2 separate regions of the Homo sapiens genome follow, and region 2 is linked to region 1. The links are contacts of gene promoters, found by promoter capture Hi-C in blood cells and fetal thymus (Javierre and others, 2016). All regions are on one chromosome and are shown on one strand. Each heading gives the region's core, a stretch centred on a gene start or on the middle of the fragment in contact. The rest is flanking DNA. Distances are from core to core; before and after follow the strand shown.

Evidence for each region. Contacts are between HindIII fragments. The CHiCAGO score rates a contact against its expected background, and 5 or more counts as called.
Region 2: a fragment that was not itself captured here is called in contact with the fragment with the promoter of JMJD6 in region 1 in 1 of 17 cell types (endothelial precursors); the score reaches 5.5 in endothelial precursors.

The regions. Positions count from the first base shown.
Region 1 is chr17:76,723,611-76,730,008 of GRCh38, forward strand. JMJD6 (jumonji domain containing 6, arginine demethylase and lysine hydroxylase) reads right to left here and starts at 2,996. Exons shown (of 6, transcript NM_015167.3): 1 at 2,737-2,996; 2 at 1,857-2,245; 3 at 162-448. The coding sequence starts at 2,865. METTL23 (methyltransferase 23, arginine) reads left to right here and starts at 3,229. Exons shown (of 5, transcript NM_001080510.5): 1 at 3,229-3,568; 2 at 6,080-6,184. The coding sequence starts at 6,101. RefSeq lists enhancers at 2,869-3,498, 4,129-4,757, 5,415-6,045 and silencers at 2,920-3,049, 3,160-3,609. The HindIII fragment of the contact is 10,785 bases long and covers 1-3,818 here.
Region 2 is chr17:77,075,251-77,081,648 of GRCh38, forward strand. No RefSeq gene overlaps it. Among named protein-coding and RNA genes, the nearest start is that of SNHG20, 10 kb to the right of the region's middle. The HindIII fragment of the contact is 3,023 bases long and covers 1,190-4,212 here.

The DNA.
Region 1 (6,398 bases), core at 1,746-4,245:
TTTTGTATTTTTAGTAGAGACGGGGTTTCACCGTGTTAGCAAGGATGGTCTCGATCTCCTGACCTCGTGATCTGCCCGCCTCAGCCTCCCAAAGTGCTGGGATTACAGGCATGAACCACCGCGCCCGGCAAAGAATGTACTTTCTTCCAGTTCATCTATACCTGGTACAAAGACAGTCTCTCCTGGTTTTTGTAAGATTTCCAGGGGTTTGAATTCAGGTGGCCAGGTTGGAAGCTGTGTCCGGGGATAAATAACATTAAACCAGGTAATAGCTTCGTCTTGCTGGTTCCCTCCTTCGTCTCGGGTCACTTTGATGAGTTCCCTGGGAGTGCTGGTAGGAAACAGGCACCAGCGCTTGTGGCCCTGAACTAAGGCATTCCAGGCACTGGTTCCCAGAGGGTCGATGTGAATCCCAGTTCCGGAGCGTGGTGGCCCCATCACAAACCACCTACAGAATGGAGATATCCAAGATGTGAAGTGTAATTTACTTACACACATACCACACAAAACAATAAGTTTTTAGTTTTTCTTTGAGAGTCTTGCTCTATCACCCAGGCTGGAATGCAGTGGCGTGATCTTGGCTGACAGTAACCTCTGCTTCCCCAGGTTCATGTGATTCTCCTGCCTTAGCCTCCTGAGTAGCTGGGATTACCGACGCACACCACCACGCCTGGCTAATTTTTGTATTTTTAGTAGAGACAGGGTTTCACCATGTTGCCTAGGCTGGTCTCGAACTCCTGGCCTCAAGTGATCACCTGCCTCGGCCTCCCAAAGTGCTGGAATAACAGGCTTGAGCCACCGCACCTGGCCAGGTTTTAATTTTATGTGATATGTCATCTTTATTTCAGAGATTATATAAATTCTGGTACACAGAAACACTGGGTGCATTGTTCATGGACTGATTCCTAACAAAATAAGAAAAATCAGCTGGGGCGGTAGCTCACGCCTGTAATCCCAGCACTTTGGGAGGCAGAGGTGGGTGCATCACCTGAGGTCAGGAGTTCAAGACCAGCCTGACCAATACGGTGAAACCCCATCTCTACTGAAAATACAAAAATTAGCCGGGTGTGGTGGTGGGCACCTGTAATCCCAGCTACTCAGGAGGCTGAGACAGGAGGATTGCTTGAACCCGGGAGGCGGAGGCTGCAGTGAGCTGAGATTGCGCCACTGCACTCCAGCTTGGACGACAGAGGGAGACTCCATCTCAATGAAGAAAAAAAAAAGAAAAAAAAAGAAAAATCACTAATGTGGTTTATTGCTGGACTTTATTAAAACCTCCCTTAGAGATCAGTGCTTCAACCATAGCTGCACATTCAAGTCACCTGAAGAGCTTTCAGAAATTCTGATGCGCAGGCATCACCCGAATTAAATCAGTCTCCCCAGTAGGGCCCAGGCAGGCCTCAGGAGCCCCCTAAATGAGTTCAATGTACAGCCGAGGGAGTACTCACTGTTTCCAAAAAAGATTAGCAACTGAACTCAGCGAGCAAATGCTGTTGTAGATAAGATTTTAACCACAGGCCGGGCGCGGTGGCTCACACCTGCAATCGCAGCACTTTGGGAGGCCGAGGCGGGCAGATCACCTGAAGTCGGGAGTTCGAGACCAGCCTGACCAACATGGTGAAACCCCGTCTCTACTAAAAATACAAAATTAGCTGGGTGTGGTGGCGCATGCCTGTAATCCCAGTTACAGGAGGCTGAGGCAGGAGAAGCGCTTGAACTCGGGAGATGGAGGTTGCTGTGAGCCGAGATCGCACCACGGCACTGCAGCCTGGGCTACAAGAGTGACGCTCTGTCTCAAAAAAAAAAAAAAAAAAAAAAGAAAAGGATTTTAACCACTTAGCTGCAGAATACTTTACCTGTAAGGGGGCCTGCGCTTCTCCCCAGCATACTGGAAAAGGTCATCAGTGAAAAACTTTGGCACCTTGTAGTCTTCCAAAAGTTTCCTTCTTTTAGGGTGTTCACCATAGCTGCTGTCAAAGATGTAAAGGGGACTATCATCTCGAGTGCTCTCCATGTACTCGATGTAGTATTTCATCTTCATCTTCACTGAGTAGCCATCGTTATCCTCACCACACTTGAACTTCTGGTTCCGATATTTCCTTTTTAGGCGCTCCAGAGTCCATTTCTCCTGCGCAGACCAGCCCTCTTGCGCATTCAACAAAACCACGGGCTTGTAAGGTCTTTCATACCGCTCCACAAATTCTTCCACAGACAGCTGTAAAGCATCTGCCCTTTCCACGTTATCCTGAGGGAATTAAAAAAGACCTGTCCAGTTAAAAAAAAAAAAAAAGTCCAGTGGCAGATAAGGGTGTCCCCAAGGCCAACTGGTAATGACAAACCGAAGGAAGTTGACTCTCGTCTGGCTCCTCCGGGGTGGGGGCAGGGCGCGTGCGTGAGGCCACGTCGTTCCTAGAGCCACCCCCCATGAGCCTTGACAGCCAGGTCCCCTAGGGGACCCGCCGCCCAAAGGAGTCAGGGACGACGGGCCTTCTAGTTGAGAGCGCCACAGGCGTGGGACTCCCGTCGTCCGCCAGAGCAGACGGGCGGCCACAGCACGGGAGGAAGCAGACCCGCCCCGGAATCCGCGCCTCGGGGACCCCAAACTCCGCGGGGTGCGGGTGAGCCTCTACGAGGTCCCGGGCGCTCGGGGCGAGGGCAGCCTCGGGCCCAGAGAAAGGTGCGTAGCGGCTGGAGGTGCCGATGCCCGGCCTGGCCACCCCCGCCCGACCCGCTCACCGCCACGGCCGCCGGGCTCAGCGAGAAGCTCTCGTAGTAGTTGTGCCGGGTCCAATCCAGCGAGTCCTTGAGCTCCGGCCGCGCACTCCGCTTGGCCTCGCGGATGCGCTTCTTGCTCTTGTGGTTCATTCTGCGGGGTCGCCAGCTGGTTCCGCTACGACCTCGGCGCAGCCCGCTTCCTGACACTAACGCACCCCTCCCCGGCCTGGGCGGCGGCGACGGCAGTACCCAAACGCCCTTCGCTCAGTCCCGGCGCCTTTAAAGTCGCCTTCCAGAAAATTCACTCCCCAGCCACCTCCCGAGCCTCGGGTTGGGCAAGCGGCCGCCGTCTTCCCCGCCCCGACGCCTCTCGCGGTTTTCCATTGGCTTTGGCTCCCCTGGGGTACTCCTTCACATACGGCGGGCCTCCGCCATGTTGGGAAGGTCACGTCGGCTGCGTCACCGCCCCGCCCCGCCCCGCCCCTCCCCTCCCGCGCTGCCGCTGTGCCCATCACTTCCGGTCGCGCCAGCCGCCCGTTGCCAGTTCTGCGCGTGTGAGTCTCTTTCGCCTTGCTCCGGGCTTTCTTCGCTCGCAGCGCGGCAGGGTTATCACCAGATCTGGGCTTTCCCCTTCTTGCCGTCAGGTGCTACGGCCACGTGGCCCGCGGCTTCCCGCTCGCGCAGTCTGGCAGCCCGGAGCCTTCCGCGGTCCCCCGCCCGCCCGGGGCCCAACGACGCCCTACTGGGCGAGCACGATTTCCGAGGACAGGGGGTCCGGGCCCAGCGCTTTCGATTCTCGGAGGAGCCGGGTCCGGGGGCCGACGGGGCTGTCCTGGAGGTCCACGTCCCGCAGGTGCGTGCAGCAGCACCCGCCAGGAGGCGCCTGAGGTCAGGAGCGGATGTCGGCTGACTTGGCTGGGTTCCTGAGGGACCGGGGGTGCGGACGCTCAGCTGCGCAGCTTCCTGCTTTAGGTTGACCCCCGGAGCAAAAACGTCGGATATGAAGCCCTTCGGTGCATTAAATGTCTCTCAGTAAGAATTTTGGAGACCCTGCCAAGAAGTGACCCTGGTCACTATGTTGGTCAGGCTGGTCTCGAACTGTAAGCTTAAGTGATCCTCCTGCCTCGGCCTCCCAAAGTGCTAGGATTACAGGCATGAGCCACTGCGCCGGGCCGGCTTTCTCCACATCGAATCTTTCCTGCCAGGAAAGTGACATTCTTGACTGACCTCTAATGCTTCTTTTGATCTTGTCCAAGGGTTTCTTGATTCATCCTTATCTCTCACTTTTGTGTGAGTTTTGGGATCAGGGTTTCCAGTTTTATTTGGTGCCCAAAGTGTTTCTTGGGTTGGACCTCGCTTCTTCCTCTAAGCTCACAGCTACAACAAAACTCTCAATAATAATTCTTTTTCTTTTCTTTTTTTTGAGACACTGTCTCGCTCTGGCGCCCAGGCTGGAGCGCAGTGGCGCGATCACAGCTCACTGCAACCTCCAACTCCCGGATTCAAGTGATCCTCCCGCCTGCCTAAGTGCTGGGATTGCAGGAGTGAGCCACCATGCCCTGCCTGTCTTCGGTTTTTCAAAGCACTTTCACTTTGCAGTATTTCATTTGGTTTTAACACCAGCCTGTGAGGCATGTCCCATGCTAAAGAAACAGCTTTAGAGAAGTTAAATGGGAGGCGGAGGCGGGAGGATCGCTTGGGACCAGGAGTTCCAGACCAGCCTGGGCAATATAGTGATACTACGTCTCTACAAAAAGTAGAAAAATTAGGCATCGTGGCTTGTGCCTGTAGCCCCAGCTACTCCGGAGGGTGAGGTGGGAGGATTGCTTGAGCCCGAGAGGTCGAGGCTGCTGTGAGCTATGATCAGGCCACTGCACTCAGGCATGAGCAACAGAGCAAGACATTGTCAAGAAGAAAAAAAAAAAAAAAGACTGGAGTGGAGGCTATTTCTGATTGTTTCCAAACAGCTTCACTTTTTTTTGCTAACTGCAACCTCAACCTCTGGGCTCAAGTGATCCTCCCACCTCAGCCTTTCAAGTAACTGAGACTACAGGCATTGGCCACCACACCCAATCTGGCTTCACGGATTTTTTTTTTTTTTTTTGGAGATGGAGTCTCGCTCTGTCACCCAGACGAGTGCAGTGGCACAATCTCAGCTCACTGCAACCTCCGCCTCGTGGGTTCAAGTGATTCTCCTGCCTCAGCCTCCCAAGTAGCTGGGATTATAGGCGCCCACCACCATGCCTGGCTAATTTTTGTATTTTTAGTAGAGACGGGGTTTTGCCATGTTGGCCAAGCTGATCTTGAACTCCTGACCTCAGGTGATGCACCTGCCTCGGCCTACCAAAGTGCTGGGATTACAGGTGTAAGCCACCGCTCCCGGCTGGCTTCACGTTTAAATACACTTGCATTTCTTCCTAAATGTAGGGGGTGATGATATTGCCTGTGAGAATAGAAGCCTCTTTCCTTTTTTTTTTTTTTTTTTGGAGTTGGAGTCTTGCTCTGTCGCCCAGGCTGGAGTGCAGTCGCGAGATCTCTGCTCACTGCAAGCTCTGCCTCCCGGGTTCACGCCATTTTCCTGTCTCAGCCTCCGGAGTAGCTGGGACTACAGGTGCCCACCACCATGTCCGGCTAATTTTTTTGTATTTTTAGTGGAGTAGAGACGGGGTTTCACCGCGTTAGCCAGGATGGTCTCGATCTCCTGACCTGATGATCCACCCACCTCGGCCTCCCAAAGTGCTGGGATTACAGGCGTGACCCACCACGCCCGGCCATTTTTTTTTGAAACGTAGTCTCACTATGTTGCCCAGGCTGGAGTGCAGTGGCGCAGTCTCGGCTCACTGCAACCTCCGCCTCCCGTGTTCAAGCGATTTTCCCGCCTCAGCTGGGATTACAGGCACGTGCCACCATGCCCGGCTAATTTTTTGTATTTTTAGTAGAGACAGGGGTTTCACCATGTTAGCCAGGCTGGTCTCAAACTCCTGACCTCAGGTGATCCGCCCGCCTCATCCTCCCAAAGTGCTGGGATGACAGGCCTGAGTCACCGTGCCCGGCCCCTGACTAGAAATATCTTATTTGCTTGCTCGTTGCCTCTCTACAGTAGGATATGTGCTCAGGGAGAGCTATATCCCCAGTCTGAGAATGATCCCTGATACTGTGACACTAGAAGCACTTGTTGAATAAACAGTGCTATCAAGAGTTTCTATCACATTGCATTGCAGTTTTATATCCCCAAAGGTCGTGGATTGGTGAACAGGGCTGCCATTTTTGTAATGGATGCCAATGCCTGACAGAAATTGCTGTATGAATGATTCCAACTTCCAGCAGCTAAATTATTTATGGCACACAAAAACATTCTTTTCAGGTCCTGCATCTCCAGTATGGAATGTATGTTTGGCCCTGTGCTGTGGTCCTGGCCCAGTACCTTTGGTTTCACAGAAGATCTCTGCCAGGCAAGGCCATCTTAGAGGTACAAATGCCCCTGAAGTTTCCAGAGTTCTAGGTTATGTTCAGATGTGTTAAGTTGACATGTGTATATTGCTTGTTTTTAGCTTTTGTTAAATATTTTTAAATCGGGTAATTTAGCTAGTTTGTAAGGTCTGTGAGCTAAGAATGTTGTTTTGTTTTTGTCTTAAGGTACAGAGATTATCCTGGAACTTTTTTTCATTTAAAAAGTGGTTTTT
Region 2 (6,398 bases), core at 1,451-3,950, 350 kb after region 1:
GTGCAGTAGCTCATGCCTGTAATCCCAGCACTTTGAGAGGCCAATGCGGGAGGATTGTTTGAGCCCAGGGGTTCAAGACCAGCCTGGGCAACATAAGGAGACCTCCTTCTCTACAAGAAATACAAAAATTAGCTGGGTGTGGCTGTGGTCCCAGCTACTCGGAAGGCTGAGCTGGGAGGACTGCTTGGGCTCAGGAGGTAGAGGCTGCAGTGAACTATGATCACACCACTGCACTCCAACCTGGGTGACAGAGCAAGAGCCTGTATTTAAAAAAAAAAAAAATTGCCAGGTGCAGTGGCTCAAGCTTGTAATCCCAGCACTTTGGGAGGCCAAGGCGGGTGGATCACGAGATAAGGAGTTCAAGACCAGCCTGGCCAAGACGGTGAAACCCCGTCTCTACTAAAAATAAAAAAAAAATTAGCCAGGTGTGGTGGCGGGTGCCTGTAATCCCAGCTACTCAGGAGGCTGAGGCAGGAGAATCTCTTGAACCCAGGAGGCGGAGCTTGCAGTGAGCCGAGATTGCACCACTGCATTCCAGCCTGGGCAACAGTGAGACTCCATCTTGGGGAAAAAAAAAAGGGGCCGGGCACAGTGGCTCACGCCTGTAATCCCAGCACTTTGGGAGGCTGAGGCGGGTGGATCACAAGGTCAGGAAATCGAGACCATCCTGGCCAACATGGTGAAACCTAGTCTCTACTAAAAATACAAAAAAATTAGCCGGGCATGGTGGTGCATGCCTGTAATCCCAGCTCCTCGGGAGGCTGAGGCAGGAGAATCGCTTGAACCCAGGAGTCGTAGGTTGCAGTGAGCTGAGATTGCACCACTACACTCCATCCTGGCGACAGAGCGAGACTCCCTCTCAAAAAAAAAAAAAAAAAAAAGAAGAAGAAAAGAAAAGAAAACAGTGGGAAAAAGAAGGCAGAGAGATTCTCCTGTCATTCTCTACCCGCAAAGTCTATTCCTGGACATCCTGGGCATCATCCCAACATATCACCATCTCCAAGTCACCAAACAGGCCAGCAACTGTAAACAAATCAAAATGGATTCGAAAGACCCTGGAAAGCCCCAGCAAGTGCTTGCAAGAGCAATATATTCTTCAGGAATGCCACCATCGATAACTGCATAGTGATAGAAAGTTGAGCAATTCTGAAGAGCCTCATTTCCATCACCCAGCAGGCATCCTTGGAGAAGCTTCTTTCAGAGTCCGACTATCAGTAAGTTATGTGTGTCTGGAAGCCCTTACAAATGAGCAGAAGAAGACAGGAGAATAAAACTTTACGATTATGCCTCTGCCGGTTTTTCTGCAAACACAGGGAGGAACAGACCCACTACAGACCATAGCCCATCGAGTGTGAAATATGAAGCCTCACGGAAGTCGGGAGCCATTAAGTATTTGTTGTGCTGACTGTCAAGGCTAGAAGCAGCATGGGAGGGGATGATGAATAAACGCCCAGCCATTACAGCAGCTCGATGAGCCTCCCGCGGCCCAAAGTTGATTCTCCATGTCATAATGAAATCAAACACTTGCCAGGAAGTCAACAGGAGAGAGAAAGGAGTTATAAAACACAGGCATGCGACTCCTTCTGTAGCTGCTGTTTTTAAAGAAAGATGCGAGAAGAAAAGAACTGTAATGAATGGCACAGTGACGCTGACATGTTGTAGAATGTGCTGGGATGGAGATTTTTCTTTGCAAGCATCACTGAGCATCCAAGAAGCTAAGAAACAGTAGATGTAGAGAGTCTTTGAAGAACCACATGCCCTAAATATCGTACTTGATGACATGTCTTCTGGGTTCAAATCCCTATATATATTGTCCTTCTGAGTGACGCTCCAGGTACAATCGAATTTTTCTGGGCAAGTATCTTTGCTTACATGTGTAAAGGTATAAAAACTACCATTTGGGCGGGGCACGGTGGCTCATGATTGTGATCCCAGCACTTTGGGAGGCTGAGGCAGGCGGGTCACCTGTGGTCAGGAGTTCAAGACCAGCCTGGCCAACATGGTGAAACCCTGTCTCTACAAAAATACAAAAATTAGCTGGGCGTGATGGCAGGTGCCTGTAGTCCCAGCTACTCAGGAGGTTGAGGCAGGAGAATCATTTGAACCCGGGAGGCGGAACTTGCAGTGAGCTGAGATTGAGCCACTGCACTCCAGCCTGGGTGACAGAGTGAGACTCTGTCTCAAAAAATAAAAAAAACCCACAGTGAATTGGGTGCTGATGAAGTGACCTGGGTAATCCATGCTGGTGACCCATGGGGCGAGGCTCTCCAGAAACATTTATTGAGCACCTCCTCTTTCCCTGACCCTGGACCAGGTGCAGTGAATACAGACGTCACAAGACCTAACCAGCAGGATGAAGTGCAGGTTCCCAGGACCCTAGCGTAGCTGGGGAGACAGTACTGTGTGATAGAGCCACAGCCAGGTGGGGTACCGGGCACGGAGGGTTAAGGAGGAAGGGGCATGGCTCTCCCTGGAGGGAAGCCAAATGGTACTTTTCAAAAAGTTGCAAACATGGCTTTCAACTATAAAATAAACGTGTAAATAATTTCATTCAACTTGTGAATTAATGAGGGAACCAATGAGATGTGGAGAGCAGTTGAAAACAGAATTTGAAAATCAGCCATATACAGATGCAGTTAGGAATGCTAGGATGGATTTGCTAATAGATACCAAGTGGGTCAGTGTCCTACGGGGCAATAAAATGTAATGTTTACAGTCATCTTTTCTATGGGACGGACACCAACTGTATCTCTGTGGGACAAAATCCATTTACATTGTTATGGACAATCATTATTTCCATTTTCTACCATTTAATGTCTCCCCTATCAGAGAATTAAAAAAGCCTGGTCAGGCTGGGTGCAGTGGCTCATGCCTGTAATTCTAACACTATGGGAGGCCAAGGCAGGCAGATCACCTGAAGTCAGGAGTTTGAGACCAGCCTGGCCAAAATGGCGAAACCCCGTCTCTACTAAAGATACAAAAATTAGCCGGGCGTGGTGGCACATGCCTGTAATCCCAGCTACTCGGGAGGCTGAGGCAGGAGACTCTCTTGAACCCAGGAAATGGAGGTTGCAGTGAGCCGAGATGGTGCCAATGCACTCCAGCCTGGGCGACAGAGCGAGACTCCATCTCTAAATAAATAAATAAATAAATAAAACAGCCTGGTCAACAGAAAGACAGCAAACAGAGTCCTGTGTAAACAGGCAATCCCTGAAACCCGGCCCTGAACCCCATGGGAAGCATGCCCAGAATCCCTCTTGTCCATCTCCAAGTCTTGGACAATTTCTCCTGACCGGGGACTATCCCAGTCTGTTCACACATCTGCAGGACCATGTAGGGCACCTCTAATCTAGCACACTGGAATCACCCAGGGAGCTTCGAAACATCCTGCTCCCCAAGCCACACCCACACCCATAAAATCAGAATGTCAGTACTTGGTACCCGGCTTCGGTATCTTTTTTTTTTTTTTTTTTTCCTTGAGACAGAGTCTCACTCCGTTACCCAAGCTGGAGTGCAGTGGCACAATTCCGGCTCACTGCAACCTCCACCTCCTGGATTCAAGCGATTCTCCTGCCTTAGCCTCCTGAGTAGCTAGGATTACAGGTGCCTGCCACCATGGCCAGCTAATTTTTGTATTTTTAGTAGAGACAGGGTTTCACTATGTTGGCCAGGCTGGTCTCGAACTCCTGACTTCAAGTGATCCTCCCAAACTGCTGAGATTACAGGTGTCAGCCACCACACCCAGCTGGCTTCAGTTATTTTCAAGCTCCCAGATGATTCTGATGTGCAAACAACGTTGAGAACCACAGCTCTGAGGACATCCAAGCAGGAACTCCAGGCTGTCCTCTACCCTCCTCCCCAGCCTTCCCACCTCTCCCTCCTCCTCGAAAGGCTTCCTTTGTGTCTTAGGGGGTAGTCACTGCAGCCTCTTCGGGCTCCTGAAACGTCCCTGCTATTTTGCAGAAGTGACTGATGGGGCAGCCCAAGGGCAGCTTTGAAACCCCCTTTTGAGTCCCAGGAGATAGCATCTTGTGATTTGCTCCACAACACGGAAGGAACCCACAGCTTGAGAGCAACAAATGAGAAGAAATCTATCATCCTCAGAAAATTGGCTCCTGGCTGTCCCGCCGAGTGACAGTAATCACAGAGGCCTCTTAAAGTGCCCGGCTAAATAAATAGTTTTAATAGTAACGAACCAGCTGCCAGCCTGAAAGCTTGTAATCATGATGCAGGTGGGCTCTGGGGCTGCCTGTATGTGCCCGCCAGCCCCTTTTGCAAGAGCATAAATCCAGGCACCATAAGGAGACACTTAAGCTCCCAGCTGGATCTTTGTACAGAAAGTATAACCGAAGATGTCTGCTTTCAGCTGCCCAGGTGAGTTTGCAGCCTGGGGAGAGCTGCAATCACAAAACTCCCCAGGCCTCCTAGTCTCACCCAAAGAGCAGCCCCAGGGAAATGGTCTGGGAGGATAGGACTGGCCATTACTGGAATTGGCCAGATATCCTGGCAGCCAAACCCCTGAGCAACCTGTAATCCCAGCACCTTGGGAGGCTGAGGCAGGAGGATCGCCTGAGCTCAGGAGTTTGAGACCAGCCTGGGCAACATAGCAAGACCCCATCTTAAAACACACACACACACACAGACAAACACACAACCTGAGTAAGTTGTTGGGCCAGAAGCCAGGGGGTGGCAGTTGGGAGTTGGGAGGAATGTGTTACAGGTAGAAAGGAATGGCCAGCTTGGAGAAATGGCCACTGGGATGACTTTGAGGACATCATTGATTCCAGCAGACCATAGGGAGCAATCAGGGATTTGGAAGCTTAAAATCTTTTTTTTTTCTTTTTTTTTTTTGAGATGGAGTCTCGCTCTGTCACCCAGGCTGGAGTGCAGTGGCGCGATCTCGGCTTACTGCAAGCTCCGCCTCCCAGGTTCACGCCATTCTCCTGCCTCAGCCTCCCGAGTAGCTGGGACTACAGGCCCCCGCCGCCACGCCCAGCTAATTTTTTGTATTTTTACTAGAGACAGGGTTTCACCGTGTTAGTCAGGATGGTCTCGATCTCCTGACCTCGTGACCTGCCCGGCTCGGCCTCCCAAAGTGCTGGGATTACAGGCCTGAGCCACCGCGCCTGGCCTGGAAGCTTAAAATATTGACCATATTTCTTGTTTCCTGGGTGGCCTCAAGCAAGTCACTTAGTCTTTCTGAGCCTTTAAAACATGGCCAGGTGCAGTGGCTCACACCTGTAATCCCAGCACTTTGGGAGGCTGAGGTGGGAGGATCACCTGAGGTCAGGAGTTCTAGACCATCCTGGCCAACATGGTGAAACCCCGTCTCTACTCAAAACACAAAAATTAGCTGGGCGTGGTGGCATGCACCTGTAATCCCATTCACTTGGGAGGCTGAGGCAGGAGAGTTGCTTGAGCCCAGGAGGCGGAGGTTGCAGTGAGCTGAGATCGCACCATTGCACTCCAGCCTGGCAACACAGCGAGACTCTGTCTCAAAAATAAAACAAAAACAAAACAAACAAAAAAAAACATAAGCACAGGGTGCGCGCAGTGGCTCATGCCTGTAATCCTAGCACTTTGGGAGGCCAAGGTGGGTGGATTGTGTGAGCTCAGGAGTTCCAGACCAGCCTGGCCAACATGGTGAAACCCCTCCTTTACTAAAATACAAAAAAAAAAAAAAAAATTAGCCAGGTGTGGCAGTGTGCGCCTCCCGAGTAGGCTGAGGCAGGAGAATCACTTGAACCTGGGAGGCGGGAGGCGGAGGTTGCAGTGAGCCGAGATCACACCACTGCACTCCAGCCTGGGTGACAGAGCAAGACTCTGTCTCAAATAAAAATAAAAATAAAAAATAACAAACTAAAACATAAGCACAACAATACCTCATCCCTAGGGTTGCTTTGAAGTTAAATGACATACTGCACAGGAAAATAACTAGCACAAAGCCAGATACCTGGCCAGCCGAGGCGATCATGCCAATTTCCTCCCTCCCTTCCTTCCTTTATATCCCAAGATTTCAAGGATTGGGCTTGGGGAGACAAAAGCTCCTAGCTCTGCGCCATCCACTGTGGCAGCCATGAGCCCCATGTGGCTACTAAGCCCCTGACCTGCGGTCAGCGTGAATTGAGAGGTGTCATAAGCAGGAACCACACACCAATTTCTGACTTAATACAGAAAAGAAAGTAAAATTGGTCTAACAGTTTTTATATGATTACATGTTATGATCATATTTTTATCTCTTAAATAAAATAAAGTTTAAAAAAAATTTTTTGAGACAGAGTCTTGCTCTGTTGCCCAGGCTTAAGTGCAATGGTGCAATCTTAGCTCACTGCAACCTCTGACTCCCAGGTTCAAGCAATTCTCATACCTCAACCTCCTGAGTAGCTGGGATTACAAGT